2 separate regions of the Homo sapiens genome follow, and region 2 is linked to region 1. Evidence: promoter capture Hi-C in human tissues and cell types (Jung and others, 2019). All regions are on one chromosome and are shown on one strand. The core of a region is centred on a gene start or on the middle of the fragment in contact, and the rest is flanking DNA. Distances in the headings are between cores, read along the strand shown. Region 1 holds the start of IFNA1 (interferon alpha 1). Region 2 overlaps LOC107987053 (a long non-coding RNA gene).

Region 1 (2,855 bases), core at 147-2,646:
TCCATTTCTGGGATTTTGCTTGCCATGTATGAACCCCCAGCAACTGCATTCCTTGTAAGTTGCAAACTCATATATCCAACTGGCAATAGACATTTTCTACTAGATGTTTACCAGTCAACTTTTGAGGATATCTGTTTATTTTTATTTCCTCACCTGTCTCAGTTTACCCGCTGCTGAGAGAAATCATTAGTTGCTCCTTCTTCTCATAGTATTTAGGATAACTGATATTAAGTATGATTACCATCTTTAGTTTTATTCCATACAAAAACCAAATATGCAAGAGAGTAGGAAGTAGATTTATTGTATTCAGCTTTATATCTTGAGTACAACATACAACCTGGTTTAGAGAAAGGTCATTTTTACTTACATCTTACATATAATAATGATAAGCAAATAAAATATACCCTTTATTCTCTAATCAGGTTGCACAGTCAGGCTAGGAATTTCATATTAAAGAATGAACACATACAGGAAGTTCCTATAGTAAAAGTTTAATGAACAACACAAAATAATGGATTGAGTAAATATAAGGAACATGTTTTATTACACTAACCACAGTGTAAAGGTGCACATGACGTTATATGAACAAAAATAATTTAAATCTTATGAATAGTTAAATAAATATTTAAATAGATAAATCAGTTTATCAGCATGGTCATAGTTATAGCAGGGGTGAGAGTCTTTGAAATGACAGAATTCATGAAAGCGTGACCTGGTGTATGAGTCAATAAGAATTGTTTTCATGTTGGACCAGATGTTATTCCTTCCTCCTTAATCTTTCTTGCAAGTTTGTTGATAAAGAGAGGGATCTCATGATTTCTGCTCTGACAACCTCCCAGGCACAAGGGCTGTATTTCTTCTCTGTCAGATAGAGAGTGATTCTTCGGAAGTATTTCTTCACAGCCAAGATGGAGTCCGCATTCATCAGGGGAGTTTCTCCCACCCTCTCCTCCTGCATCACACAGGCTTCCAAGTCATTCAGCTGCTGGTAGAGTTCGGTGCAGAATTTGTCTAGGAGGTCCTCATCCCAAGCAGCAGATGAATCTTTTGTGGTAAAGAGGTTGAAGATCTGCTGGATCAGCTCATGGAGGACAGAGATGGCTGGAGCCTTCTGGAACTGGTTGCCATCAAACTCCTCCTGGGGAAATCCAAAGTCATGTCTGTCCATCAGACAGGAGGAAGGAGAGATTCTGCTCATTTGTGCCAGGAGCATCAAGGTCCTCCTGTTATCCAGGCTGTGGGTCTCAGGGAGATCACAGCCCAGAGAGCAGCTTGACTTGCAGCTGAGCACCACCAGGACCATCAGTAAAGCAAAGGGCGAGGCCATCGTAGATATTGCAGATACTTCTGGGCTTGCTGAGATGGGTGACTCTGAACCTTGGGCTCTAGGTTCTCTGAAGGCCTTGCTTCCTGCAAATGCCTTAAATAGGGAACATACTGATTTCCACTTTCTTAATGCTTCTGGGCCACTTTCCATTTCTGTTTTTGCTTTCCTTCATGCACTCTTTACATGAGTTTAGAGCCGTGTTTCTCAAATGTTTTGTTTTTCATTATTGTCTTCCCCATCTTGTTCCCAGAGACTTTTTAGATATCTTTTTCCTAATTGAACCCACCGTGAAAATTTAATAACACAGATACAATATGTATCTATTTATATACTATATGTATATCTCTATAATCAAAAAGTACAAAGTTTAATCTTTGTATTCAATGCAGGTTTAAAAATAACCAAATGAAAAATTTAAGCTAAAAGTTAAATTTAAAATCTATTCAAATTTTTCTTAACTTTATAACTAAATTTGCTTATGGACTTCAACGTAATTTATTTACTGATATAAATTGTACTGTAGGCCTGGCGAGGTGGCTCACGCCTGTAATCCCAGCACTTTGGGAGTCCGAGGTGGGTGGATCACGAGGTCAGGAGTTCAAGACCAGCCTGGCCAAGACGGTGAAACCCCATCTCAACGAAAAAAACAAAAAAAAAACAAAAAAAAAATTAGCTAGGCATGGTTGTGTGCACCTGTAATCCCAGCTACTCAGGAGGCCGAGGCAGGGAATTCCTTGAACTCATGAGGTGGAGGTTGCAGTGAGCCGAGATTGTGCCACTGCACTCCAGCCTGGGTGTCAGAGTGAGACTCTGTTTCAAAAAACAAACAAACAAATAAATTGTAGTGTATCAAATTACATAAGCAAATTAACAAATTATAAACATTTTCTAATGTTTATAGATAAACATTTTCTAAGTAATGAATACTTAAAAATTATTTGAAAGTGATAAACACTTAAAACTTTAAAATATTTTTATCATTTATTTTTAGTGTTCTTACGTTTTTTTAGATCTGATTACTCCTGAATTTCACCAAACATTTAAACAGAACCAAATCTTTGAAAAAATTAAGGAGGAATACTCCCAAACTCATTTTATGAAGCCAGCATTACCTTGATACCTAAGCCAGAGATGGACATTACAAGAAAAAAAAAAATTACAGCCAATATTCCTGATGAACACAGATGCAAAATCATCCACAAAGTAGTTGCAAATGAAATTCAAAAGCACTATAAAAGGATCATTTATTATGATCAAGCTTGATTTATTCCTGGGATGCAAGAATATTTTAATATGTTGGAATCAATAAATGCCATACTCCTTATTTACACAATAAAAGATTAAAAATCATAACTATTTTTATGCATGCCTAAAATTATTTTGACAAAATTTAAAATCCATCTCTAATACAATTTATAACAAATTAGGTATATAAAGAATATACCTCAGAATAAAGAGACACATTCCTTATTAGCTATAAGATAAGCCATTAGCTAACACTATAGTCAGTGGTGAAATGTTGGAATCT
Region 2 (2,836 bases), core at 226-2,725, 140 kb after region 1:
ATCATCACTGGCCATCAGAGAAATGCAAATCAAAACCACAATGAGATACCATCTCACACTTGTTAGAATGGCGATCATTAAAAAGTCAGGAATAAACAGGTGCTGGAGAGGATGTGGAGAAATAGGAACACTTTTACACTGTTGGTGGGACTGTAAACTAGTTCAACCATTGTGGAAGAAACTGTGGCTATTCCTCAGGGATCTAGAACTAGAAATGCTATTTGACCTGGCCATCCCATTACTGGGTGTATACCCAAAGGTTTATAAATCATGCTGCTATAAAGACACATGCACATGTATGTTTATAGCGGCACTATTCACAATAGCAAAGACTGGGAACCAACCTAAATGTCCAACAACGATAGACTGGATTAAGAAAATGTGGCACATATACACCATGGAATACTATGCAGCCATAAAAAATGATGAGTTCATGTCCTTTGTAGGGACATGGATGAAACTGGAAACCATCATTCTCAGCAAACTATAGCAAGGACAAAAAACCAAACACCGCATGTTCTCACTCATAGGTGGGAATTGAACAATGAGAACACATGGACACAAGAAGGGGAACATTACACACTGGGGACTGTTGTGGGGTGGGGGAAGGGGGGAGGGATAGCATTAGGAGATATACCTAATGCTAAATGACGAGTTAATGGGTGCAGCACACAAGCATGGCACATGTATACATATGTAACAAACCTGCACGTTGTGCACATGTACCCTAAAACTTAAAGTATAATAATAATAAAATAAAAAATATATAAATATAATAAAATAAAATATCATTATGCTTTACAGAGATAGTTCAGTTGACGGCATTAATCAGCAACAAAATACAACTTTTTAAGGATTACCAGCAATTTTGTGAAAATAATTAAGAATAATAGATCATAGTAAAAATACATCCTTTAGAAAAAAAAAAGAAATATGTTCTCCAAGTTGCTTGGTTTCTCTCTCTGTCTCTCAGGCATGCCAATAAGTCATAGATTGGGTCTCTTTACATAATCTTATATTCCTTGGAAGTTTTGTTTATTCTTATTGTTTTTTCTTTATTTGTCTCTGACTGAGTTATTTGGAAGAGCCAGTTTTCAAGCTCTGAGAGTCTTTCCTCAGCTTGGTCAATTCTGCTGTTAATACTTGCAATTGCATTATGAAATTCCTGTACAGTATTTTTCAGCTCTATCAATCAGTTTGATTCTTTCTTATAGTGACCATTTCATCTATTAGCTCCTGTATCGTTTTATTGTAATCCTTAGACTCCTTGGATTGGATTGGGTTTCAACTTTCCCCTATATGTCGATGATCTTCATTCCTATCCATATTCTGAATTCTATTTCTGTCAATTCAGCCATCTTAGCCTGGTTAGGAACCATTGCTGTAGAACTAGTGTGGATGTTTGTAGGTAAGAAGTCACTCTGGTTTTCTGAGTTGCCAGAGTTCTTGAACTGGTTCTTTCTCATCTTTGTGGGCTGATGGTCCTTCAATCTTTGAAGTTGCTAACCTTTGGATTGCTTTTATTTCTTTTATCCTATGTAACATTCTTTGGGGTTTAGTTTTGCTATAATGTGGGTTCAGTCAATTGGCTTAATCTATGGGGATTTAAGTGGGCCAAGGCTCAGCTTAGGAGCCCTGAACTGCATGATCCTACTGTGGGTGTCTACTATCAGGCCTGAAGCTTCATTCTGGGGCCCCTGGAGATTCGCAACCTGCCATGCTGAAGGGGCCTAATTTGCTCCTGAACCACTGGTCAGAACACTCTGATAGGTGGTGCCAGCCACAGTGATTCATAGAGTGGTGGCAGTGGGATCCTTCCTCATTTGCATGTGTCAGCAGCTTGGGAAGGCAAATGCTCATTGACTGCAGTGGGGCACTGGTGAGTGCAGGGGTGTTGGACTCCATGTAGGCATTCACAGTGGCAGTGGTGGCAGCACAGTGCAGAGGCTGCAGGAGCTCAGTTTTTTTATAAATATAATGGGTTCAAATATTTATATAGTTGTTATTCCTAAATGAACACATATAGTTTAAAGCACTGTGTGTGGTATCCTTCACAGAGTAAGGATTTAAAATATGGCAGGTATTTTTCTATTTTCCTTCATCCAGCTAGAGAAGAGAATATTATTCGTCTTTCTATAACATTCTTAGGAACTACGTCCTCCCTTTCAGAAACCCATCTCCAAAGGAGGCAAACTAAAAACCTAGAATTCTGTCAAAAAATCTGGAGGGGTTGAAAAATTATCCCTCCTTATTTCAAAGAAGTTTGCTATTTGTATTCAGTCAGGAAATGGTGGCTTGTATAAATACCTGAGAGAGAAGAAGCACCATCTAGATTGAAGTGCAGAAGATATATGATGTTTATTAGCTGATTCTGGCACCTGGCACATTCCCTTTCTGGCTCTCAGAATTCCAGAATATACTTCCATATAAAGTTAGTCTCCTAAACTGAAGTGAAATATACATAGCAACCTTTGCTGGTTCTGAGACCTGGCACACTTCCCCCTTTCCTCCCTGTTTTTCTGGATCCCATTTTTAACTCCCATATCACAATAATTTCCTTCCTCTTCTTCTAGAAATCCGCACTGTTCTCTTCTCTTCACTCTTCATTAACCTGCATTGCCTCTTCATACAGCTGTTCTCAGTTCTCTTGTGGGTTTTGTCCACCAATTTCCCCTTAAGAGTACAAAACCACAAATTAAAGCAGACGTTGAATGAAAGTTCTAGGTTTTTCAGAAACTCTTATATGAAAGGCTGTTTTTCTTTTCTTATAAATATTTCTGGATAAGAGGGAATGTCCCTGTTATAATGATGTAACATTAGCTTAGCAAAAAGAAAA

The links. Contacts are between HindIII fragments. The study calls those that stand out against the background at their distance.
Region 2: a fragment that was not itself captured here is called in contact with the fragment with the promoter of IFNA1 in region 1 in 1 of the 25 tissues and cell types used here (liver).

What each region holds. Positions count from the first base shown.
Region 1 is chr9:21,438,980-21,441,834 of GRCh38, reverse strand. It overlaps IFNA1 (interferon alpha 1), which reads right to left and starts at 1,396. Exons shown (of 1, transcript NM_024013.3): 1 at 519-1,396. The coding sequence starts at 1,327. The coding sequence ends at 758. The HindIII fragment of the contact is 13,457 bases long and covers 1-2,855 here.
Region 2 is chr9:21,295,189-21,298,024 of GRCh38, reverse strand. All of the region lies in intron 2 of LOC107987053 (a long non-coding RNA gene), which reads right to left. Among named protein-coding and RNA genes, the nearest start is that of IFNA5, 8.7 kb to the left of the region's middle. The HindIII fragment of the contact is 5,447 bases long and covers 1-2,836 here.